4 separate regions of the Homo sapiens genome follow, and regions 1, 2 and 4 are each linked to region 3. Evidence: promoter capture Hi-C in human tissues and cell types (Jung and others, 2019). All regions are on one chromosome and are shown on one strand. The core of a region is centred on a gene start or on the middle of the fragment in contact, and the rest is flanking DNA. Distances in the headings are between cores, read along the strand shown.

What was found. The method cuts DNA at HindIII sites, captures the fragments that hold promoters and counts their contacts. A contact is called where the count stands out against the background at its distance.
Region 1: a contact is called between a fragment that was not itself captured here and the fragment with the promoter of DNAJC28 in region 3, in 1 of the 25 tissues and cell types used here (dorsolateral prefrontal cortex).
Region 2: a fragment that was not itself captured here is called in contact with the fragment with the promoter of DNAJC28 in region 3 in 1 of the 25 tissues and cell types used here (lymphoblastoid cells).
Region 4: a fragment that was not itself captured here is called in contact with the fragment with the promoter of DNAJC28 in region 3 in 2 of the 25 tissues and cell types used here (dorsolateral prefrontal cortex and spleen).

The regions. Positions count from the first base shown.
Region 1 is chr21:32,602,631-32,607,851 of GRCh38, forward strand. It overlaps CFAP298-TCP10L (CFAP298-TCP10L readthrough), which reads right to left. Exons shown (of 12, transcript NR_146639.2): 3 at 5,019-5,086; 4 at 1,495-1,653; 5 at 531-662. It overlaps CFAP298 (cilia and flagella associated protein 298), which reads right to left. Exons shown (of 7, transcript NM_021254.4): 3 at 5,019-5,086; 4 at 1,495-1,653; 5 at 531-662. Among named protein-coding and RNA genes, the nearest start is that of CFAP298, 7.1 kb to the right of the region's middle. RefSeq lists a silencer at 1,849-2,143. The HindIII fragment of the contact is 4,387 bases long and covers 1,779-5,221 here.
Region 2 is chr21:32,627,049-32,634,415 of GRCh38, forward strand. SYNJ1 (synaptojanin 1) reads right to left here. Exons shown (of 33, transcript NM_203446.3): 33 at 1,715-4,753. Among named protein-coding and RNA genes, the nearest start is that of CFAP298-TCP10L, 18 kb to the left of the region's middle. The HindIII fragment of the contact is 9,547 bases long and covers 1-6,747 here.
Region 3 is chr21:33,489,652-33,495,971 of GRCh38, forward strand. DNAJC28 (DnaJ heat shock protein family (Hsp40) member C28) reads right to left here and starts at 2,065. Exons shown (of 2, transcript NM_001040192.3): 1 at 1,951-2,065. The HindIII fragment of the contact is 10,582 bases long and covers 1-6,320 here.
Region 4 is chr21:32,949,639-32,956,846 of GRCh38, forward strand. No RefSeq gene overlaps it. Among named protein-coding and RNA genes, the nearest start is that of LINC01690, 5.6 kb to the right of the region's middle. The HindIII fragment of the contact is 5,013 bases long and covers 375-5,387 here.

The DNA of each region.
Region 1 (5,221 bases), core at 2,722-5,221, 890 kb before region 3:
CCAGTGGGAAAGGGAGGATGCTCAGAGCCACGGACTCTGGATCTACATAAGGTGGAGGGCCCCATTTCCCCAAAATCACAGCCTAGTGACGTAGGAGCACCCACAAAACCAAGGCGGCCCCTCAGGTTACAGCGCTACACGATGTCCTTCAAAGGTCTCGAACCTTTCCTCCTCCCCCTCCTGTACACAGCATCAGCAGTTTGAAAAAGCCTGAAATCAGTGACGGGCGAAATTTTACATTTCAAGGAACATATCTGTTTACTTGCAGCCCTATTTTTACGCTTGAAATTAACATAGTATATTTCCTCTCCCCCACATATTAAAACAAACTCTAGATATTGGTACTCAATCCATATTTTCTTCCAGTTTTTGTTGGTGTGCAGGAAGAGGATATTTTTAGTTTAAACCCGAGCCAATAAGATTAAAATATTTGTACCAGTAGTTTAAATCTTTCGGATTCACTGTACATTTTTATCAGTTTGAAGGGAAATAACAAAAACTACTGACACATTAAAGCAAAAAGTACTTACTTGCTGAATCTTGGCGATAATTTTGGTTTTTTCATTCTTCCCCACGTAGTCTGAAAGCTTCTTCGTTCTTCTCAGCTCCTTGGCTGCCCACCACAGCTGCGCCTCTGCCTCTTTAATGACGTTGAGCCCTGCCTGGGGCCAGTCGTAAGAATGGCTTGACTGTGTGTTCCCACCCAGGGGGCAGAGCCCAGCTGAGCCCCTCCCAGCAGGGGGCAGGGGACAGATTTCTCCCCGTGCTCACCATGGGAGGCCTGACTCCCGCACCTCACTCTAAGTCCTTGCTGACTTTAGTACCTTCCCTGTTAAGTTTCCACTCATGCCCTGACTCAGTTAACTTCCTCCTCTGGACAACAGGGAGATCCTATCTCATTTGCACCTTGATCCATATAGTTCGTCTTAGACAGATCTGTAGGCCACTGCCAGGGAAGGGCACTGGCATCGTGCTGGGTGTTTAAATCGAGGTATAAAGGGGCTGCCTGTTTACTTCTGCATATTTCATTTATTTAACATGGCTTAGACAAAGAATATTGTCCAATAGGATAAGAAGTGAGAAAACCCAAGGAAAATGGAACATGAGGGTCAGAAAATAACATGAAGCAACAGGTAAGACTAGAAACACAAATTTCCATGCAAAGGGACTGACGCATTTGGGTAGAAATAGGAAGAAATTAGGTAGCTGGCTTCCTAGCAGCCAAAGACAGTGGAAATGTTTGCAGTCACTCCTGATGAGCGGCCTCACAAACTGCGTCCACTGCCTCCTGTGTGTGGGGCCAAACCCCTCACTCATGAGTACCCACTCTCAGGGGCTGCTCCTGAATTCAGAACTCTGCTCTGAAGCAGGGCATAGCAAACCTGAAAGCTGTGTAGGGAGCAAAACACTACATCCAGAAGAGGGGCATCAAATCTTAAGGGCTTTGGGGGCCAGGAACTCAACCTCCAGAGTACCCACTCACAAACTACGTACCTGTGTTCCCGACAAGTCTTCCTTATTTTCAAACTCCATGCGGATGGGATCATACGGTGGCAACCCCATGGGGTAAACAATCATCACCGCGCCTCGAAGCTGGTCCAAGGCATCTTTCACCATCTCCATGGTAACACAGACACCGGCTTCCACTTGTTTCTGCAAGCAGAAAGCCATCGTTATCTACAGTGTGGCTAATCACTTCCATAAATTCGATCAAGATCTTGTACAAGACCCTTGCCAGATACTGCCAGAGCAACAAAAAGAAATCAAACAGTTCTTGCTCCCAGAGTGACTACCATCTATTTCAGGGGCTGAGCGAAGCACACCGTGGCCTGTATTATAAAGCAGACGGTGAGCAGCACTGAGCATGGAGTACAATGAAGTGCAAAGAATTCTCAAAGGAGAAAGAGCCCAATGCTGGCAGCACAGATGGCAGTGAGGATCGGGAGATACGGCAGGGGGAGCAGGCACCGCAGGTGGGCCTCGAAATGCAGATGGGCTGAAAAGGTACAGATGGCAGCAGGTGCTTCAGGACAAGCTGAAACAAAGAAAAGCAGGCGCCAGCCCCCTCAGCATGGGGCAGGAAGGAGAGAAGATGAGGCCAGCTCTAGCTGGATCAGCTGAAGTTTGTTTTTGAATGGCCACAAAAGCCAGGCTGAAGAGTTCACCTTTCCTCTGTTAGGCCACGGGAAGCGACTGCCTTTTCTGGGAAGGAGTGGTAATGTTGAGAGATTTATCTTGTAGCTGATATAGAACAGACCTAGTTGGCCAGATGTGGTGGCTCACACCTTATGTAATCCCAGCACTTTGGGAGGCCGAGGTGGGCAAATCACCTGAGGTCAGCAGTTCGAGACCAGCCTGGCCAACATGGCAAAGCCCTGTCTCTACTAAAAATACAAAAATTAGCTGGGCGTGGTGGCAGGTGCCTGTAGTCCCAGCTACTCAGCAGGCTGAGGCAGGACAATTGCTTGAGCCTGGGAGGCAGAGGTTGGAGTAAGCCAAAATCGTGCCACTGCACTCCAGCTTGGGCAACAGAATAAGACTCTGCCTCAAAAAAAAGAACAGACCTAGTTGGAGGGAGACCAGGTAGCAGGCTCTGAAGAGTACAGAGGAAGGTGTGATGAAATAACAAATATATCTGGTCTTTGCTACTCAGTTCCAGGCACAGAGCTCCAAAACTCTTGGAATTTCCTGAGTGACAGGAGTGTCTTGTTATTTATAACGAGCCCCTTCTCACCATACCTGAGCTTGTGCTAATACAGTAACCTGTAGTCCGCGCTGGGTTTCAAGGAAGGGGCTGGCCGTGCCTGGGAGACCAAGCACATAATTAGAGGGTTGGAGCTTTCGGCCTCACTCCCTTCCTCCACCTCCAGGCGCTAGAGGTTGGGATCAAACACGTGGCCAGTGGTTTAAGCCATCATGCCTACTGAACAAAAACGCTATAAAAATCCCAGACATCATGGCTCAGTGAAGCTTCCTGATTGGTGAAGACGTTGATGTGCCGGGTGACACACATCAGTGGGGGCGTTGTGGGAAGCTCCAAATTTGTAGTCAAGCTGGACACAAGTATGGGTGGCCTGGGGACCTCACGTGCAGCTGGTGTCTGAAATAAGAGGAGTCTTGTTGGTGATCTCACCCTTTAACTTTTAGGTCTGATGCTAACTCCAGGCAGTTAGTGTCAGAATTGAAGGATCTGCCCTTGACCTGTGGGGTCTGTGCTGTCTCTGAGTAGTTAGTGTCAGAACGGAATTGAATTGACTGGCAGGACCCCCAGTGGGCATCAGAATGCAAAAGGCTACAGGAGAGCCTTAAAGAAAGCCACAGCTGTGGAAGTGAAAGGAAGAGGTGGACTTAAGAGGCATCATGGGAGCAGACGGTACAGAACCCCACTTCAAACCTAGAGGTGACAGAAGGGAGAAGTGTTGAAGATGACACTGAGGATTTGCCCTATAAAACCAAGACACTGTGGTTCTGTTACTGGAAACAGAGAAGCTCATAGGAGGTGCTGATTCTCAGGGACAGAACAGAGAGGGAGAGGAGTGAGGAAGCAAAGAGCTCATTTCTAGAAAACTGGACTTCAAAGTGCTGACTGGGTGTTCAGATAGAACCATCTCACAACCAGCTGGAAATTCAGGTTGGAAGTGAAGCAAGATGTCAGGGGGAAAGGATGGAAGCTTCAGAGTTATCTGCAGAGGGTGGAATTTGCATTTGGCAGAGTAGATAAGATACTGAGAGAGGAAGAAGACCAAGGATAAAAAGTACTTTCAGAAGTACACAGGCAAAGGGGAGAAGTGAGGCGACCGAGAGAGGAGTTCCACAGCAAAGTGTGGGGAGAAGGGTGCAGAACAACAGCCAGACCACTGTTTTCTTGCCATGGCCTGAGACGTGCTCACATGCCTAGATGCCATCACCACGCAAACGACGGGCTCAACCAGGGCCTCTCCTGTAGAGCTTCATAAAGCCTTTCCTATATTAACAGGCACAGAGCTTCAGGGCAGCCTTTGCTGAGGCTCTTCAAAGATTAGTCAAAAGCTTGGTAAGTTTGAGAAATATTGGTTTAAAAATAACAGTTCTGCTGAGCAAACCAGGAGAAGCAGAAGAAAAAGTGGTGATCAGTCAAGAGACTTGCAGTTGAGAGCGGTAGCAACTAATATCACCAACACACAAATACAAGCAACAGATACAGATACCACTTCTTTCAATAGCCTTAAATTCTCTTCCTCCAGATACACATTATCTGTATATCAATGGTATAAATTTACGCTCCTCCCTCTATAAACTAGCCTTTGTATAAAATGCTGAAGACAATTACAAAAAACCATTTATATCAAATACATATTAAGTCAATCAAGTGTCTGGAGAGCTACTCGATGGCCACAATATTCAAATCTCCCCTACTTAACTTTGTTAAGTTCTTCAAAAAGGTAAAAGAAATGAAATCAACATTTGTATTATACATATTTGTATTATACGTGAACCTATATTTACATAAGCCAACAAAAATTTGTGTCTGCCTGGAGGAACGGAGAGGCCTCTGGGCAACCGTCAGGATTATGAAAGGAAAAGCTACAGCCTACCCCAAATACGCTTGTTTCCTTTGCCTCCGGAAGGCTGAAAGAGAAGGCTGGCTGAGAGGCAACTCTGGAAGCCAGAGTTGGAGTTTTATCTCAAAAGACAAGTTTTAGGCCGGGCGCGGTGGCTCATGCCTGTAATCCCAGCACTTTGGGAGGCCAAGACAGGCGGATCACCTGAGGTCAGGAGTTCGAGACCAGCCTGACCAACATGGAGAAACCCCGTCTCTACTAAAAATACAAAATTAGCTCGGCATGGTGGTGCATGCCTGTAATCCCAGCTACTCGGGAGGCTGAGGCAGGAGAATTGCTTGAACCCAGGAGGTGGAGGTTGTGGTGAGCCGAGATCGCACCATTGCACTCCAGCCTGGGCAACAAAAGCAAAATTCCATCTCCAAAAAAAAAAAAAAAAACCCAACAAGTTTTAGTGCATCATTTAAAAAAGCCAACCTTAGATATTATTGCTTTGGCTTCTTCTATAGTCTTCTTTAACACTTGCTTCATCTTCTCATTTGGAGCTATAAAAATAAAAAGGAGAGAGGGAGAAAGAGCTGTCAAATACAAAGCCTCTTCTGAAATACCTCAATCCCCTCTGTCTGAGTCAGGGGGTAAATGAACTGAGAGAGAGTGCGAGTGTGGAATTTAGGGAAGAG
Region 2 (7,367 bases), core at 724-3,223, 860 kb before region 3:
ATGAATCTCCAGAGAATTATGCTGAGTGAAAAAAGCCAACCCCAAAAGGTTACATACCATGATTCAATTTATGTAACATTCTTGAAGTGAGAAAATTATACATGCGGAGATCAGATTAGTGGTTGCCAGAGGTTAAGGGCAGGGGAAAAGGAGATGGGATGAAAGGGCAGTGGGAAAAGGGCAACATGAGGGCTCCTTATGGTGATGGAAATGCTCTGTATTGTTCATGTCTCGGTCATGCTCTGGTACTGTAGTTTTGCAAGCTGTTACCCATGGGGGCAAGTGGGTAAAGGGGTACACGGGGTCTCTGTATTATTTCTTATAACTCCATATTAACCTACAAGTATCTTAAAATGGTTTTTGTAAGCCAATAATTCTGTAACTTCTTAATAAAAGGTTAATGAACATTAAGAATTAAAGTAAGAATTTCAAATATCAATCAGACAGGTCTGAAAAAAGGCAATACTAGCCTTGGCTTTTTTTTTTTTTTTTTTTTTTTTGGTGAGATAGGGTCTTGGTCCGATGCCCAGGCTGGAGTGTGGTTGTGTGATCATAGCTCACTCACTGCAGCCTCGATCTCCTGGGCTCAAGTGATGCCCCACCTCAAACTTCTGAGTAGCTGGGACTACAGGGACGCACCACCATGCCCAGCTAATTTTTTTGATTTTTACCAGAGATAAAGTCTATGTTGTCCAGGCTAGTGTCGAACTCCTGGGCTCAATCAATCCTCCTGCCTTAGCCTCCCAAAATGCTGGGAGTATAGGCATGAGCCATTGCACCTTGCCTAGCCTTGGCCTCTTTTTCTTTTTTTTGAGACAGTCTTGCTCTGTCCCCCAGGATGAAGTGCAATGGCGTGATCTCGGCTCACTGCAACCTCTGCCTCCCAAATTCAAGCTATTCTCCTGCCTCAGCCTCCTGAGTAGTTGGGATTACAGACGCCTGCCACCACGCCCGTCTAATTTTTGTATTTTTAGTAGAGACAGGGTTTCACCATGTTGGTCAGGCTGGTCTCGAACTCCTGACCTCATGATCCACCCATCTCGGCCTCCCAAAGCGCTGGGATTACAGGCGTGAGCCACCACGCCCGGCCCTGGCCTTTTAATTTGGGTCTCTTTAGGCAGTCCCTTTTTCTGATTGGCTATTTTTGTCCCAATTCCTCTTTGCCCCCCACTTGTTCCTTCTACTTTGGGTAAGAAAAATCATTCATATTTCTTGTATTATTTTCAAGTCAGCATGTTTTTGCGTGAGGGCCTCTCTTATGGAATAAGTGCATGGACTTTTTTTTTTTTTTGAAACAGAGTTTCGCTCTTCTCGCCCAGGCTGGAGTGCAATGGCACAATCTCGGCTCACTGCAACCTCTCCCTCCCAGGTTCTAGTGATTCTCCTGCCTCAGCCTCCCCAGTAGCTGGGATTACAGGCCTGCACCACCACGCCCAACTAATTTTTTTTTCATATTTTTAGTAGAGATGGGGTTTCACCATGTGGGCCAGGCTGGGCATGGACTTTTTAATAATGATTAGTAATCTCGGAAAATCTTCTTAGTTTTAGAGGAAGCACTATCTGGAGAAATGAAAATAAGGTCTTGAATTAAAATATCTGATTCGGCAATAAGGGTTAAGCTTATTTTGTTTGAACGTCACCAAACTTGTGTATGTAAAGTACAAGGAAAATGGCTGAGAAAAATTCTTCCCTTTCTAACAAAGAAGTCAGCATGGTAAAGACAGATATATTTATTTCATATGACAGCACGTTTCACAGGATATGTACAGAATGTCTGTGTACCACTGACTTTAATACTGTACTTCTATAAAGTTTATAGTTATAAATATTGTATGCCACATAAGCAATAAAATTCTTACATATAAACAGCAATCTAATATAGAGAACACAGAGTTCACAAAGAGATCCTTAGTGTCTAACTTCTGCTCTGCTTTTAACAGAACTAGTAAATATTTAATAATACATAGAATAATGGCTAGTTATTTGCAGCATACCTTTAACTTTCATAACTTTGTGCATTTTCAGCAACTTGCCAAGTATAATTTTCCTGATAAAGGCTGGGCTGCTGATATGTATATTTTAGACAGTAGTTTATATTCAATAGGAAACATTGCTCACAGATCTGCAATTTGCACTAGTGAAGTTTACCTAACAATGAATTATTTTGCTAATGGAGAGCAAATACCATATACACTAGTCACATGGATGTTAAAGCCACAGTTTCAACAAGTTAATTCACATTTTGAAGCAACTGCTTATAGTAATACTGCTGTTTAAGACGCTACTGCTGAAATGATTAGAACCTCCAAAAAGCACAATATAAAACTCACAAGAGTTATTTCTAACAGCAAATCTTGGCTGTTAACAGAGAAGATTACTTCTATAAATATAGTATTTTGATAACATTTGAGCATTTAGAAAAATGCTTTTTTTCTAATAGATTTGCTTTATAAGTGCAGTGCAGTTTGCTGTGCTTTTAACATTCTACATATTCGTAGCCATGAACGCTATTTTTTGATATTCCCTCAATGTACATCTTTAAAGGTTAAGTGTGGACATAGGAATTTAGGTGGACATATACAACTCTTTATATAAAAGGAATGTTAATGTAAGTCTTAATGGGTAAAGATGATTGTAACTGAAACTGACAAAGAAACAACTATTGCTCAAGGAGTTTTCTGATTGGTTTACTTAATGATATCAAAATACTACATTCTGTAAAAATTCTGTGTACTTCTTCAAAAAATTAATAAAAGCGGGATCAGTTGCATATTGGCAGTGCAGGAGACAAAATCCGCAGCTACTTTGAGGTATAGCCTCTAAAAACTTAAAGCAGCATCATAGATGTGTTATGTAGCCTCGTAAGAGGGGGGAGAACACACACTGGGTATATTCCCAATTCAAAGCACTCAGGGGACAGCTGCTTTCCCTGCTAAAAGCAAAGTTCCAGAGCAAAAGCAGCAAAAAGAAAATATGGGAGGGATATGGGCAACGTATACTCGAACGTACGCAGAGAAGAGAGTACGGTTAGCTCTAATATTTCTCATTGAACTTGGTGGTATGTGCCTTCCCTGCATATAAGGCCATAGTGCTTTTTTGGGAGCGCTAGAATATCCATCCACTTGACAGTGACCACAAAATAGGCTGTTTCCAGCTGCAAGAACCTCCTCCTGGAGAAAAGCGTATGAAGGTGCTGGAGTGAAAAGTAACAAGGTTGTGTGTATTTGAAGGGGTTGGGTGTGGAACGGTAGAAAATTCTGATTCTGTGGTGAGATTATTCTAGTTTTGAAAACAAAATTAATGAAAGGTCCAAATTACATTTGCAGCCATCTTTTTGGTAATGTGATATTGAAAAAGGGACTTTGTTGGAACTTTTAGGTATAATTTGGTCTGAGTTATAGCCTAGAAATTAAAGTATGAATTGTAAAAATATGTAAATGTATACAGAAGTACATGTGTTTGTATGTATTATATATGTACACATACCTATACTTTTTTCCTTTAAAGCAATGCCTTTCAAAACTCTGTTCACTGTAACCTTGGCAGCTCTTTGGTAAATACTCAAAGATACCAATTGTTAACAAGTATGAGAGGGCTGGTGGAAATGTCAGCTGAAAGTTGGGTGGGCTTTTTGAGATTCTTCAGAAGACTGACCGAAAAGTTTCTGAATAAGGACTGTTTTCTAAAGTATAAGTACTTTTTATGGCTACTACTGTCTCCTATTCATCCAAAGAGAAATACATCAAAACTCCAGTTAACAATGAGAAGGGTTTTTCCTTATTTCCAATATACACATAGTCCAACTCTGTACACATCAAATAGTGGTGTTTTGTGAAGATATCAGTGCACTTACAATGACTTATTGCACATAATGAAATACTAATGCCCAATTCTCTTAGCTCTATCCTGCCAAAAGCAAGTACCCACTGTTTTCTATTGCATGGCGTTATCTTTCTGTAAAGTCCAGTGTGGGTGAAGCCTTAGAGGCCAAGGTCGTGAAAGGATCTACTGGAGGGCTGGTGCCGGGCGGGAGCAGAGGGACAGGAGGTGGAGGAGGTCTTCTTGACGGCAACACACAGAAGGAGACATTTGTACCTTTATTCCAGTCATCATTCAATGTCAGGTTGGAGCCAGAAAATGAACTTGGCTGATTACCCAGTAAGTCTGAACAAGCTGACTTTGACTTCCCTTTCACACCAAAATCCTCTTCTTCCTCGAAGGTTACCCATCCTTTCGGGTTGCTAATTTTTAATGTAGACTGGCCCTGTAGATCAAAACTGTCCTTAAAGCCATCAAGTGAAGATGAAGCCCTGCTTTTGTTATGACCAAGAGGCTGCAGAGAAGGGAAAGGACTGATAGTAACGGGCTCTTCTTTGGAGAACCATGAAGTTGCCTCTGATTCTTCAGACTTGGCTCTAAATGGGTTTCCAGGAGCAGCAGTCCTGTCACTGAAAGGATTTGTCCTGGTCAAGCCAGTAATAAATGGGTTTGGAGAACTTCGCATATTTTCCTGGGATTGACTCCGAGCTGGAATTGGAGGCATTGTTGGCATGCAACTTACAGAACTCAAAACATTACTTTGCGTTGCAGAAGGCAACTGAATCAACCTCTTTGGGTCTGGGGTGGGAACAGGTGACGTTTGAACAGATAGCTGAGCCTTTGATACAGCAAGCAGATTAAATGACAGATCTTCAAATGGGTCAATCTTTAATGGTGATTCTCTTTTGCCATCAGAGATTCCATTTGTTTTTACCTGCAAAAGAAAGGGAGCACTGAAAAATCAGTTTATATTTACTCTTAATACCCCCTATTCTTCCTGTCTCAATTATTCTTCCCTTTTAGGGGCAAGCATGTAAATTTAGAAACTAAAAAGTAGCTTTGTGTAGTTTGTTACTCCGGTGGTTTAAATAACATGAAACACCTACAGTCTTTAAAAACTTCTTTCTAAATAAATCCTTTCTAATTAAATCCATTTTTAAATCCCTCAAAATCAAAGAGCTTATTTCATTCATGCAAGTTTTGAAATGGTAAGAAGGAGAATTGTACAGAATTAACAAATTTGTTCATGCCCAGTTCTATCACATTTCAGCATGAACTTAAGAAATCCATACTTATAACTTATGCTAAATCTATATAAATAAAATTCTAACACCCATCTATGATGATGATGTGGTTTCATTGTTCTTTTAAGTGTGTTTTCTAAAATTAATGTTACTATGGAAATTCAATTTTATAGATAAAATTAATTCTATTAGCATATTTTATTCCTAAGACGAAGACTCCATCTTTCTGTCTTCTACTTGGAAAAATAAATTTTGAGAGTTCTTTGCCCACCCCCTCTTTTTTTTTTTTTTGGAGACCAAGTCTTGTGCTGTCACCCAGGCTGGAGTGCAATGGCACGATTTTGGCTCACTGCAACCTCCACCTCCCGGGTTCAAGTGATTCTTGTGCCTCAGCCTCTTGAGTAGCTGGGACTACAGGCGTGTGCCACCAGGTCTAGCTAATTTTTTGTATTTTAGTACAGATGGGGTTTCACTATGTTGCCCAGGCTGGTCACAAACTCCTGAGTGCAGGCAATCTGCCCACCTTAGCCTCCCAAAGTGTCAGGATTACAGGCGTGAGCCACCATGCCCGGCACAGCTGACTTTTAATGTAAGCTCTCCTTTGTTGAATAAACTGAGTAATGTGAGGCTGGGCGCGGTGGCTCAAGCCTATAATCCCTGCACTTTGTAAGGCTGAGGCAGGTGGATCACCTGAGGTCAGGAGTTCCAGACCAGCCTGGCCAACATAATGAAACCTGTCTCTACTAAAAATACAAAAAATTAGCTGGGCATGGTGGTGCGCGCCTATAATCCCAGCTACTCAGGAGGCTGAGGAAGGAGAATTGCTTGAACCTGGGAGGCAGAGGTTGCAGTGAGCTGAGATCGCACCACCGCACTCCAGCTTGGGCAAGAGCAAAACTCCGCCTCAAAAAACAAAAAACAAAAACTGAGTAATGTGACAACTTTCCATAAAAAAATTGACCCTCCTGTCTTGTAAAAATATTCCAAAACAGATACACTATTAGTAACCAAATGCAACCATTGCTTAAAACCAGAGGAAAAAAAGTTCCATTTTCTATTTGGTTTATGAAGTCTACAACCACAATGATGTGCCTAGAGTGGTGCCTGGTCCCTTCTATGTGACAGAGTTGGCTGTGAACTGTTATCAGTAGGAAGAGTGCTTGGAATTCCTTCACTCCTGCCCTAAATCCCTTGGTCCCTACTCCATAAAGAAGGTGGTTGGAGTGGAGCACAGCCAAGGGACTGAGCAAAGACAAATGATCGGATGAAGGAAAAGAACTATGATTCTTGCCTCATAAGCAAATTAGCTTATCAGGCATACATTATTAATTTTGAAAAAAATGTATATAATTCTTAAAACTAGGGTAGATGACTTGGACACTTATGCTAACTTAAGAAAACTTCAGGGTTGGATACGATAGGGCAAAAAAAAATTCAGTTCAAGACTGGCAATGTAATAAAATGAGCACTGCCCAAAAGGAATTTGGATAGTTGTTAAAGCAACATAACTATACTTTCATGAAATATATTGGAAAAAAACAGCAGCAGTCTCAATAAAATGTAACTGCATACTATGAAACACTTAGTTACTGCTTAAGAATATGGAAGGATGTTCACTTGTAAAAGGAAATGGATGACTTAAGTGAATAACTTTCAAGTATCTGTTTTATTCAACTATCCTAGAATATGCTTTATAATTGGTTGAAACAGTATATTTTTCTTCAAACTTAGTGTGATAAATTTGTACAAAACTAAAGAGAAAACATGTCACAGACTTTAAACTGTACTCTAAATGTCTTAGGTAAGTAGACCTATATGTGGAAATGTACTTAAAAGGAAATTTATATAGATATTATAAAATTAACTCTATATTACCAAAAATCTCTGGACTATTTATAGTTAATACAAAATGAAATACTTCTGTCTGAGACAAAATTCTCCTATGGCAGATAGAATCGTCTGCAACACAGACATTATAGGAAAGGAGAATTTTGTGCTCTGCCAGCTTAGAACAGAAGTCACCTGCTGCATCAGTGCTATACATTTAAACACCTTTATTTGCATATATAAGAAAATTTTTATTTCAAAATAAGTTAATTTGATAGAATCAGGATCATTTTTCCCAGACTTGAAATTACAATGACAACCACATCACCATTCATCACATTAGAATTAATTTGTAATCTAAGCAGGATTTGTGATGACAATATTAAAATTGGTGCTATTTTTACAGAGAAAGGTGTTGGAAGGACCTTTAGATAATCTTGTTATACTGGTAACTTTCATCTTTCTAAACCATCAATT
Region 3 (6,320 bases), core at 815-3,314:
GCTAATTTTTTTGTATTTTTAGTAGAGAAGGGGTTTCACCATATCGCCCAGGCTGGTCTGGATATCCTGACATGGTTATCTGCCCGCCTCGGCCTCCCAAAGTGCTGGGATTACAGGTATGAGCCACTGCGCTCAGCCTTTTTTTTTTTTTTTTTTGTCTGAGACAGGGTCTTGCTCTGTTGCCCATGCTGGAGTGCAGTGGCACAATCGTGGCTCACTGCAGCATCAACCTCCTGGGCTGAAGTGATCCTCCCACCTCTGCCTCTCATGTTGCTAGGACTACAGGCGTGCACCACCACACCTGGCTAATTTCTGTATTTTTGTAGGGATGGGGTTTCGTCATGTTGCCCACCCTGGTCTCCAACTCCTGAGCTCAAACGATCTGCCAGTTTCTGCCTCCCAAAGTGCTGGGATTATAGGGGTGAGCCACTGTGCCCAGCCACATTCTTTTTTCTTTTCTTTTCTTTTCTTTTTTTTTTTTTTGAGACAGAGTCTCACCCAGGCTGGAGTGCAATGGCATGATCTCGGCTCACTGCAACCTCTGCCTCCCGGGTTCAAGCGATTCTCCTGCCTCAGCCTCCCAAGTAGCTGGGATTACAGGTGCACGACACCACTCCTGGCTAATTTTTGTATTTTTAGTAGAGACGGCGTTTCACCGTGTTAGCCAGGATGGTCTCGATCTCCTGACCCTGTGATCTGCCCGCCTCGACCTCCCAAAGTGCTGGGATTACAGGCGTGAGCCACCGCACCCAGCCCCACCAGCTGCATTCTTATAGCTATATTTCACTGATGTGGGCAGAAAAGTGGAAGCTGATGAAGTTTAGTGTTAACATATTGTGGGGCCAGGCACGGTGGCACACGCCTGTAATCCCAGTACTTTAGGAGGCCGAGGTGGGTGGATCACCTGAGGTCAGGAGTTCGAGATCAGCCTGGCTAACATGGCAAAACCCTGTCTCTACTAAAAATACAAAAATTAACTGGAGGTTGCAGTCCCAGCTACTCGGGAGGCTGAGGCAAGAGAATCGCTTGAACCCGGGAGGTGGAGGTTGCAGTGAACCGAGATCGTGCCACTGCACTCCAGCCTGGGCAACAGAGTGAGACTCTGTCTCAAAAAAATATAGATAGATAGAATCTGGATTCTACCCCTCACTAACTAACCGTATATTTTACAAGTGGAAAGTTCTTAGAGATCATCTAATCCAATCTTCTCATTTAATGAGAAAACGTAGGTCCGGAAGGTTAAGCAATTTAACCAAGTCCCATAACAAGGTGTAAGCAAAATGGTTAGGGGTGGGCACAGTAAAAAAGGAGGCTTGCTTAACTGTCTATACCTCCAGCCGATTATAAACTGCACGAGAGTCTGCATCATCTCAAGAAGTCTTCTCATAAGACGACTTATGGACAAGGTACGTACCTGGTCTGATACTGGATTGAATAGAATCAAGTGTCCAAAAGACTTTAAGCTCCACAGCTCGCTAGGAAGGAGCTATCTGCCAGAGGCCAGAAAAACCATGATGAATTGTGAGGCCTCCCAACACGTTTGCTGCTATTGCAATAACATGGTCTCGAAGAGGAGGAAGACTTGTACACTGACAATGGCCAAAAAATACTGGAAGTGGCTTAATTGGAATTGGGATATATAAACGCTAAAACGGAGCTCCTGAGACCCCCTATTTTCTAGGCAATCGGTGCCAACGGTCTGGGAGCCGGCTGCGAAGGTGGTTATCATGGCAAGGGAGGTCGGTCCTGCCCCGCCCCCTCCTCACCTGCGCAGACCTGGGGTAGGGGTTCCGCGGCTCCCGCCCCCCTGCCGCGCCTCTGCGCATGCGTGCGCGGTCCGCCCTTCACTGCGGGTGTCCCTCCCACCGCCTCCAGCTGGTGCCTCCGCCGGGCTAGACCATTTGCCACTTTACACTGAGGGGCTCGGGGGTACGGAAGGCAGAATCGTACCTGATTGGGACAGGTGACCTTACCAGGAAAACGGACAATCTTCCGCCAAACGAACTTTACCCCGGAGGACCCAGGCAGGGCACCTCGGGAGCCTTCGTCCCGACCGGGGACCACCAGCTCCACCTCCGTCCCCGCCCCGAGCGGAGGTGGTCCGGCCGATTGGGATTGTGGGAGATGTAGTTCGCTAGAAGGGGCGATGTGCGCCTGCGCCTCTCGGGAGGGACTTAGGGGGCGTCGAAAATGATGTAAAGACCGAGTTGGCGGCGTGGGGAGTTGTGGCTCGGAGGGCGAGGGTAACTTTCTGGGGGCAGGGGAAGGCAAGGCTGTTTCCCCGGAACGGGACCGGAACAGGTTTATTCGGGGTCACAGAAGGAGTCACCTGCGCAGATACATGAGGCTTAAAACCTGCCCTTTTATTAATTCAAGTACTGTTGAGGGGCTGGCGACAGGCCAGAGGACAAAATCAAAATAGGGATCTTCTGGCTTGGAGTTCAACCACTGACGTGGGGACTGAGCATTTCCCCTCTCTGTACAGGAAGCAAGTTTTTTAACAAGGAAAAAGAAAAAGGATAAAAAGAAAAAGGCAGAGGCTTGGGAGTTTTCAGATCTGGGTTGAAAATCCTGTTTCTTCTGCTTGCACCTTAGGCAAGATACCTGCAAAATGAGAGTTGCAATAAATAGTAAACTATAGTAAATAGTATGCCATTGTGCTAAGTGCTTTATGTATATTCTCATTTACTTTTTTTTTTTTTTTTTTGAGACAGAGTCTCGCTCTGTCGCCCAGGCTGGAGTGTGGTGGCGCGATCTCGGCTCGCTGCAACCTCCACCTCCCGGGTTTAAGCTATTCTCCTGCCTCAGCCTCCCGAGTAGCTGGAATTACAGGCGCGCACCACCATGCCCAGCTAATTTTTTTGTATTTTTAGTGGAGACCAGGTTTCACCATGTTGGCCAGGCTGGTCTCGAACCCCTGAGCTAAGGTGATCTGCCTGCCTCGGCCTTTCAAAGTGCTGGGATTACAGGCATTCATTTAATCTTTACAACAGCCCTCTGAGATAAATGCTGTTATTTTCCCTATTTTACATATAATGAAATAATAATTGTATCAACTTCATTGACTTTTTTAGGGGGAGAATTACACAATGTATGTAAACCACTTGGCACTGTGCCTCGCACATTAAGCAATATTTTTTGTTATGACTGTGTCTCCTAAAAGGAGCCAGAAATAGGTATTAGCCTCCTCAGCTTCTACATCATAAACATTAGAATCATTTATTGCCATCTATGTAGGAACACAGAAAAAGATACAGTATAAACTCTGATTCTGAGGGCTTTAGTTATAAGCAAACAATCAACAAAATAACTCATGTGAAAGAAAATAGGATTTCTGGCCGGGCGCGGTGCTCACGCCTGTAATCCCAGCACTTTGGGAGGCCGAGGCGGGCGGATCACGAGGTCAGGAGATCGAGACCATCCTGGCTAACACGGTGAAACCCCGTCTCTACTAAAAATACAAAAAATTAGCCAGGTGTGGTGGCGGGCGCCTGTAGTCCCACCTGCTCGGGAGTCTGAGGCAGGAGAATGGCGTGAACCCGGGAGGCGGAGCTTGCAGTGAGCCTAGATCGTGCCACTGCACTCCAGCCTGGGCGACAGAGCCAGACTCCGTCTAAAAAAAAAAAGACCTGGCCACTAAAAAATTTTTAAAAAGAAAAATAAGGCCAGACGCAGTGCTCACGCCTGTAATCTCAGCACTTTGGGAGGCTGAGGCAGGTGGATAACCTGAGGTCGGGAGTTTGAGACCAGCCTGACCAACACGGAAAACCCCCATCTCTCTAAAAATACAAAAAATTAGATGGGCGTGGTGGCGCATGCCTGTAATCCCAGCTACTCGGGAGGCTGAGGCAGGAGAATCGTTTGAACCCTGGAGGTGGAGGTTGCAGTGAGCTGAGATTGCGCCACTGCACTCCAGCCCAGGTGACAGTGCGAGACACTGTCTCAAAAAAAAAAAAAGCCACCAAGCAAAACTTCCTAAAAGTTGCCAGTAGCCATCCCCCTCTTCTGCTTCCAGGCCCAGTAAGGTGCCTTATATCTCTCAATCTCATCCTTCTCCCAGCCTTGCTTCTAAATGCACTCCAAGGCCAGGCACAGTGGCTCATGCCTGTAATCCCAGCCCTCTGGGAGGCCCAGGTGGGAGGATCACTTGAGCCTAGGGATTTGAACCAACCTGGGCAACATAGGGAGACCCCATCTCTATTTATTTAAAAAAAAAGTAAAATTAAAATACACTCCAAGTGTCAACACTTCACGCAGAAAACAGAAATGTTGAAGTTAGCCTTGCTTCCCCAGCTGCTCAAGGACCTTTTGAAATCTTCAACTGAGTGCCCAGCGAAGGCTGGGGAAGGGGCGGGGACTGTCCATCCTCCTTCCCAATACCAGTGGTTTATCAGTGTATTCAGCCCACAAAGCAAGTCCCTTCTCTAGGTACAGGGGAAAATTTCATTAGTAAAAAAATAAGAATTTTCCCCTTCAATCCATTAAAATTATAAAAATACATAAAACAAGATAGAAATGACAGAATGTTCTCAATAAATTGACCATATAAAAGGCCATACTCTGGCTGGGCACGGTGGCTCACGCCTGTAATCCCAGCACTTTGGGAGGCCGAGGTGGGCAGATCACGAGGTCAGGAGATCGAGACCATCCTGGCTAACACAGTGAAACCCTGTCTCTACTAAAAGCACAAAAAATTAGCCAGGCATGGCACCGGGCAACTGTAGTCCCAGGTACTCTGGAGGCTGAGGCAGGAGAATGGCATGAACCCAGAAGCAGAGCTTGCAGTGAGCCGAGATCGCGCCACTGCAATCCAGCCTGGGCAACAGTGCAAGACTCCGTCTCAAAAAAAAAAAAAAAAAAAAGGCCATACTCATCCTCAGAGATTGCAACCAAACGATACATTAATTAATTTAAAAAATGTTTTAAAGGTTATATTCAGCCTAAGAATGATTCACACAAACTTTTTTTTTTTTTTTTTGAGACGGAGTCTTGCTCTGTCGCCCAGGCTGGAATGCAGTGGCACGATCTCAGCTCACTGCAACCTCCACCTCCCAGGTTCAAGCAATTCTCCTGCCCCAGCCTCGCGAGTAGCTGGGATTACAGGCGCGCACCACCACACCCAGCTAATTTTGTATTTTTAGTAGAGACAGGGTTCTGCCTTGTTGGTCAGGCTGGTCTCGAACCCCTGACCTCAAATGATCCACCTAGGGCTCCCAAAGTGCTGGGATTACAGGTGTGAGCCACTGCACCTAGCCCACACAAACTTTGGAATCTTGATTACCTCTGAAAATCTTCGGGTAGACGGGGGAGTGTCCCAAGATTTTCATTTTGAACCACTGTTCATAATAGGAAGAATAAAGTCAAATTACAGAGAGAGAAATAAATTATGAAAGATTCCATGCTATAGACCAGTGCCGTGGCACATACCTGTGGTCTCAGCTACTCAGGAGGTAGGAGGATCGCTTGAGCCCAGGAGTTTGAGGCTTCAGTGAGCTATAATCGTGCCACTGTTATTCCCGCCTGGGTGATAGGTGAGACCCTGTCTCTTAAAAAAAAGAAAGAAAAACGAAAGAAAGAAACAGTGCAGTCATAAAAGAGAATGAGATCATGTCTTTTGCGGGAACATGGATGGAGCTGGAGGCCATTATTCTCAGCAAACTAACGCAGAAACAGAAAACCAAACACTGCATGTTCTCACTTATAAATGGGAGCTACATGATGAGAACTTAGGAACACAAGGAAACAACAGACACTGGGGTCTGCTTGAGGTGGGAGGGTGGGAGGAGGGAGCGGAGGAAAACAGAGAGCTATTGGGTACTGGGCTAAATACCTGCATGATGAAGTAATCTGTACACCAACCCCCCATGACATAAGTGCACCTATGTACCCCTTATAGGTGTAAGCCACCGCGCCCGGCCAGTAATTACAATAAGGAGACGCTATGTACAGTTGTCTCCCTCCAGATGACCTGGTCACTTCTCCACTCTTTGGGCTAAATTGTGCCCCCCATGTTGAAGCCCTAACCCCCAGTACTTTAGAATGTGACTGCATTTGGAGATAAGTTATTTAAAGAGGTGATTAAGTTAAAATGAGGCTGTTAAAGTGGGTGATAATCCAATCTGACTGACATCCTTATAAAAGGAGGAAATTTGGCCCCAGAGAGACATCAGGGTTGTGCACACACTGAGCAACGTCCCTGTGAGGACACAGAAAGAAGGCAGCCATCTGCCGGCCAAGGAGAGGCCTCAGGAGAAACCCACTCTGCAGACACCTTGACCTTGGACTTCCAGTCTCCACGACTGTGGGAGAATAATGGTCTC
Region 4 (7,208 bases), core at 1,631-4,130, 540 kb before region 3:
GTCCCAATGCAGCTGAAATATTTCTCCTTCTCTATCTCTGGGGCCTGTTTAACCAGGTGAAGAGTCCACACAAAGCTACAAAAATCAGTTGAAAATAAAAAAAAATTAGTGGAGAATTAGTTTTCCTTGTCTATCTGATAAATGTCCCTAGACTTGTTTGAGTGGCTTTGCATCAAACAGCAATTAGCATGAAAGGACAGCATGACTGGGTGGTTTGGCTTCCTGCAGACGCAGCTTTGCTCACAAGAGCTTACTGATCCTTGTCACCACCCTCCTCTGGGGCAGGGCCAGGCCAGCTTGTCACGTGGGACTGGTGACATCTTCTCACTTGGCTTTTCCAGTGGAGTCTCTAGAAACAAATATTTTAGAACTTTCATCCGGACTAGGCAGGATTAAGTGAGAATCTCTTTAGCATCTGCCTTTGTTAGAATTAGGTTCATCTGTCTGAAAGCAAGGCCTCAAATAAAAGTGGCTTGAAAATGACCCAAGTTTATTTCTGTCTCATGTGCCCAGGGTTGGTGGGATGGCTCTGCTCCATAGGTCCTGAGGGGCTGCTCTACCTCCTTAGCACAGCTTCTTATAGCACCAGAGGTCCAGCCATCACGTCTGCATTCCAGTCAGCAGGAAGAAAGGAGAGCAAAGAAGGGAATGTCCCTTCCCTTACAGTATGCTTTCTGGAAGTTGTATACCACTTCTACCTTCAGCCTTTGGCTAGGACTTAGTCTCAAGGACACACTTAGCTGGAAGCAATACTGCAAAATGCAGTGTTGTTATTCCACGTGGACCTGTGCCCAGGTATAAACTGGGGCCTCTACTGCAAAGGAAGCAGAACAGAATTGACATTGGGTGGGGCGGGCAGAGGGGGGTTACTGTCTAGACTCTGCCAGAGTCCAAGGGCACTCTGTCCCAAGAGTCAAGGGACCTTTTCCTAATTTCAATTCTGCAAATGATTTGTCAGCCCGGTTGAGGAGCAGGCTAGGACAGCATGCACAGATGCCGTCTTGCTCAACTTAACCCTTCTTCATTTGTGCATTTTCATTTAATACACTTGGATTTGGTACAGAGAAGGGGAATAGGGTTCTAGACACTGAAGGAAATGAAATCCCCACATGGCTCAGAGCGTGGGGATTTTGCTACTTGAAATACCATTGTACCCTCTCCACTTTCAAATGAAGATCCTGACATTGTTTTCCAGAACAATTGCACCGTCCAGACTCAGGGACCCACAAAAGTGTCAATTCACCGCATGTTGGCTTTTTTTTTTTTTTTTTTTTAAACTAATTGTAACAAGTGGTTGCTGTGAAACGCAGGCTTCCGAAGGCTGCCCTTCCAGTGACCCATACCCTGACCTGGACAGACCACCTTCTGTCCAAAAGAGGAAAAGTTTTGTTCTTAGATCAGATGAAACCCTGGCTTACCCCTGGTGACCAGCGGGATTAATCAGACACCAGTAAAACAGCTGACAGAAACACTGAACCAACTCACAATAACCAGCACACACATCAGGCAGCATTCCTCTGCGGGGTCTTACCTCATCCCTTTCTTTTGCCCTGAGATGCAATCCCTGCTTCCTGAGGCCGTGTTCTCTGTGCTTCTTAAAGGGAGCCACTTGCAAGCTAAGAAGCTGCCCATTTTTAGGATCAATATGGTATTCCCCCAAGTTGGTTAGAAAACACAATGGCAGGGACAGAATTTGCAGCAGGGGTTTGTAGAGGATTAGGGCTGCTTCGCCAGGATTTATCGCCCCATGCACAACCCAGACTGAAACCCTGGTCGCAGTCTGGGTGGTTTAGAATGAGCCAACAGGCATTGCCATCAGTTTTAGGCCTTTGAAAAGTAAAATCTTCCCAACGTGCAAAAAGTAACCACTAAAAATGGACCATAACCAGATGCAAAGAAAGAATGAAAGATTGTGAAAGGAAAAAAAAATTCTGAAACTGTATTTGGAAGGTTCCTGCAGAAGGGGTCCTTCTGAAAGTATGCAGCAGGCTTCATAGCTTGCCCAACAGTCATGTACATTTCAGAATGTAACTTTCCAAAGCAAGTTGCTTCTTTGCTTTACTACCTGCAGAGAGCCACCTGCTTCATTTAATCGTGCTTTGGGTTCTGTTTTATTTTTACTGTATCCCATTTTCCAGGGCAAAAAGCAGAAAGCAAATAAAACCACATTTTTGCTACTAACTTAATATGAAATCTATTTTAATTCAGAATGATTTCCCTCCACTTTTATTTTAAAACATGTTTAAGAAGAAAAGCAAGCTTAGAGGATTTCTGGTCCTAAATACAGCGATTTCAAGGATTGTTATCAAAACCCTGAAGGGCAGTGTTAAAGAATGGGATAACCTTGAAATATAGGATGGCTAAGAAGTGAGAGCAAAATATCACTCACTAGTGGCTATTTGTAACCAGAGTTATGCCAGGGAAGGGAGAAAGCAGTGAGAGCCGGCAATATTTGAGACGGAAAGAGATGACAGAGAAAGGTATCTTTAGCGAGGAAAGCATTTAGTGACTTTAAATCAGATGCCAAAAGAATATTTACTGGGGGAAAAATCAATTTTTCTGTGCTGTGGAGGAAGCATTTCAAAGTAAGACAACCTTTATTTCCAAATGCCTTCTGGAGGCCCTCCCCGGAGGACACAACACCAACGCTATTAATCTTGACTTAGTGAATGAACGTATTATACGGATTTCAATCCAGATCTTCAAGTCTTAAAGAGTTCTGAAGAGCCCAGATAAAGCAACCCGTTTTTCCTTTGGTGATTCCTCAGGGGTAACTCACTTTAATTCCCCTTTCATCTCTATGGGAGGACTCGGAACTTTAAAAGCAAACAGGTTTCCTATACTAATTCCTGGAGAGAAGGCTTCTGTTGCTTTCTTGCTGCTGCGAGACTGAAGGTGGGTGACCATCTTCATTTGTTACCTTGGAAGATGTGGAGAACCAGAAGTAAGTTTGAAATAATAGGCCAACGGTAGCTGTCTCCTTTCTTCGAGGAAAGTTATTGCCCTTCCAAATGCCAGTTTGTTTTTTGATTTTCCACGGTCCAGCCCCGTATTTAACACAGAAAGATGCTTTAGAAGCCAGAACACTGATAATAACCCCAAATATACACAAAGACAAAGCAGAGGGCATGCCTGTTTTGTCCCGTCAGACAAATTATGATCTAAATTTTCTGCCAACACCACTTTTTTTCCCCTGATTGTTTATGGCAACAGCAGCCTGTTTATTGAGATTCTAAACTGCAATGAAATTTTCTGGGATTGAAAAAAAGAGAATAAGAGAGTTAGAGAGAGAGAGAAGGCTTATTATGTAGAAGTAAACTGTTTCAAATGGAAACCTGACTCCCATTGTGGAAAGGGAAAGCATTGAGGAAAATTACGCCAGATTATCTAGGCTAAAGGAAAAATTTTATGCCTCACTGTGCCACTTGCAAGGAACAGGAGAGGAAAGAAAACACAGAAACTGTGTGGCAACAAATGACTAAATTGGGACGCAGAGATAGCAGCCTTGCTAGGTTCAGTCCAACTTGTACAAGAATGGTAACAACCTAAGGCAGAGATATACCAACAATTATCTGTTACCCAGGGATTATATTAATAAAACAGCCAGGGAGGGAAATGGCTCCATTTAACTAACTTTTTTTTTTTTTTTTTTTTTTGGGGGGGAGTTGGAGTCTTGTTCTGTTGCCCAGGCTGGAGTGCAGTGGCGCAATCTCGGCTCACTGCAACCTCTGCCTCCTGGGTTGAAGCAATTCTCCTGCCTCAGCCTCCCGGGTAGCTGGGATTACAGGCACCCGCCACTGCACCCGGCTAATTTTTGTATTTTTAGCAGAGATGGGGTTTCACTATCTTGTCCAGGCTGGTCTGGAACTCCTGACCTCATGATCCAACCATCTTGGCCTCCCAAAGTGCTGGGATTACAAGGGTGAGCCAACGCACCCAGCTACTACATTTTGACATAAAGTCCGAAGACGGGACACAGGTCAGCACTTTTCATCCTAAAGGGTTATCAAAAGACATCAACTTGTATAAAAACTGGTGTGAAAATCGAGTGATGTTTTAGTTGATGTCATATGTTTTGTTCTCTCATGTGTCCAGATCCCGGAATAGGCTGAGAAAAATAGAACCTGGAGTGTAAAAAGAAAAAAGAAACATGTTAGTGGATATAGGACATTTTGCAGCTCTCAATTTGATCTGTTCCACAGTCGTCACACAGGATGAGAAGATTGTAGGAATGTGGAAAAAATTAGAATAACCTTGCATTTCGAGTTATGGAAAAGAAACTTTTAAGCTTTTAACATTTCTGTGAGAACAACATGAACCTGACAGCTAAATCACTGAAATATTGATCACATTACAAATAAAAATTCAAACAAATTCGTTTCAATTGAAAGAGGAAAAACATTGATACTACTACTGCTCATTGGTATGGTGATATGCAAATGTGGACTCCAATAAAGGAATTTGTCTAATTTTTGGACCACAATTATGTGAGGGAATATCAAAATGTTTATAATTTGCAACAACACAAGGATGTAGATTTTGTCTGATTTTGTTAATCTCTGAAAGGCTTATTTTTGATGTGAATTAATTGGATAGTCTAATATGCTCCCTTTCAGCCCACCATAAATATCTGTGAATTAAATTATGTAAACAGTTTCCTCAAAAGCAGAAGCATTGCTAACTCCCTTCCCCCGCATTAAATAGTTCTATATGAGTTGACAGAAGGAGTTGGCTGTGTGACCTTTCGCAATGAACGGGGAACATAGCCCCCTCTGGCCTGAATCTGAGAGAAGCCCCTTCCCAAAGCCCTTATGAGATGATATACCAGAAAACAACACATCTGACCAAGAAGTCTCTGAAGTTGCAGCCTTTTGTATTTACACTTTTGAGCTATCTCCATTGTGATGCAAATCTCGATTTTCAATCAAAATTGGCTAGAAAAAAAAATCTTTCTCTGGAAACCGTTGTAGGAAGCACGTAAGCCTAAATCTTAAATTTTCTCTGTTCTGACTTCCTATTAAGCCACAAAACAAATGTTATCAAACACATACACCTTTTGCAACTGCGGATTGAAAACTCAACCGTGTCAACTAGCATTTTTAACTAACTATAGTTTTAGTCTTAAAGGGTGCTGAGTTTATGCGTTATAAATGAACACCCCCCTCCCTTTTTTTTTCTCTCTAATTTGGGTGCTCACGTCAAAAGCATCTAAAAGCATTTTAACTTTTGTCGACTGTCCCAATTCAAGTTTGTTTGAGAGAGTCCTCCCTTCTTAGCTTGGATCCTTTATATAAGTCCAGATGAATAAAATAAAATGAAATGCAAAAGGAAGGCATCATTAATGGCTTGAAGGCGTCCCACTTTTATTTTCTTGTATTTTAAGAGCTGAAGTTGGAAATATGGAATCCTCCCAAGCCGCTCAGAAAGTTTGAAGACACAGGGGGCAGGGACCCAGACTTATGGAAGTCTCCGCCTCAGGCTGAAGGTTTGTGGGCGTCTGTGTGTGCGTGCGTCTGTCTTTTACTGTACCCTTCAAGATCGAGTTCTGAAGGAGCATTTCTCCTGCCAAAATACACACACAGCCTGGGATTAAAAGGGCTGAAACCTACCAGCAAGTTCTTAACGCCCTCCCACAATCATTAGACCAAATCCACCATCATTCCAGATTCATTTTTCCCTTATTCATCTGTCCAACTAATTCCTGCCACATTCACCAGGCTTATATCTTAATCTTTTCTGTTACATAGAGAATACATAATGAAAAGCTGCATTTTCTGGGTACATGCACACATTTGGAGCGGATGAACCATATGTGAAGCGACATACAATGCTGAATGCCGGCTGAATGGCGTCCAGCGCTAAAAACACCGCGAGCGCAGGAACAAAAAGCCGGCGAACAAGAGCCAGCGCCAGGCTTGCCTCTGCTGGAACACCAGGGGCTTCGCCGCGAAAACATGGGTATAATTTCACTGTTTTCACTCACACAAGCTGTGGGAAAGGAGTCACCATCTGATGTTTGATTGTGTGGGATATGTTTTTGGCAGTGGCCTTGTATTCCTCATTGACAAAAAAAAAGAAAAGAAAGAAAGAAACAAGAGAAAAGGGGCAGAGATGGAGGGGGGAGGAAAATAAAAAAGAATAGAGCTACATTTGCTGTTTTCAATTTGCAGTCTGGGGGACAGGCACAGCTGACAGTTCTGACCAGTGGCCACCTGAAAATCAGGGCCAGGGCCTGGGGACTGTCCCCTCTGCCTCCATCCCCTGGGCCTCCCTTTATGCCGAGGGACCAGGAGGGGACTTTTCTCCATCCTCCCCCGTCGGCTGGTTAACTTACGACTGAGCTGTGGGGCTGACGTTTGCCTGATTTAATAAAGCCTTTTATCCAAGGTAGCGGCTGGGAAGGCAGGGTCCTGACAGCCCAGAGGGGGAAAGGGCCCAAGGCTCACAAGCAGACACTTTCCGGAGCCGGTGAGGAAAAGAGTGAAGCTTCAAAAAAACTCCCTGGCAATGCGTCTGGGGCTGAAGCCAGGTGGTTTCTCCCGTGGTTTCTGGCTGGAGACTGGCAGGGGTGTTAGGTTTACACCCTGGGTCTCTGCCCCAACCGAAGGTTCTAGAAAGAGATATGCTGCTCTTTGTCACCATCTTTTCCTCACTCAGGAATGCCAGATTTAGCAAGTAAACATACAGGATGCCCAGCTACATTTGGATTTCAGAACAACAAGTACTAAGCCGTGATGTGCTGTTTCCCCAAAAGCCAATTTTCACTGAGTGTCTTGCACGTTATCTGACAATGCTACTCCCACGCCACCAGGCTTCCTGGTCCAGCCACCCACCTCCCCTCACCTGTGGCGGGTGGGCAGGGGGGCGGTGATCAACAGCCTCCTCTGCCTGCATCTCAGGATGTTAAGAGGATAATGAGAGAATAGATGGGTAGCTGCTTTCCAGAAAGGTCATTAATTAGCCCTGCTGGTTAGCATGTGGTTCCAGTGCCCCAGCTGTGCTAAAGGCCTTCCTCTTAGCATCCAGTTCAAACCAGGAGACATGACCAATGAGACTAGAGAGAGTTTGGTGTCATTTCCTCCTGGTGCCCAGAGCCCCTTCTCTGATGGGTTTCACATAATTTTGTTTCGACCCTCTTTTAGAATCAAACCAGGCTGGGTGCAGTGACTCACCCCTATAATCCCAGTACTTTGGGAGGCCAAGACAGG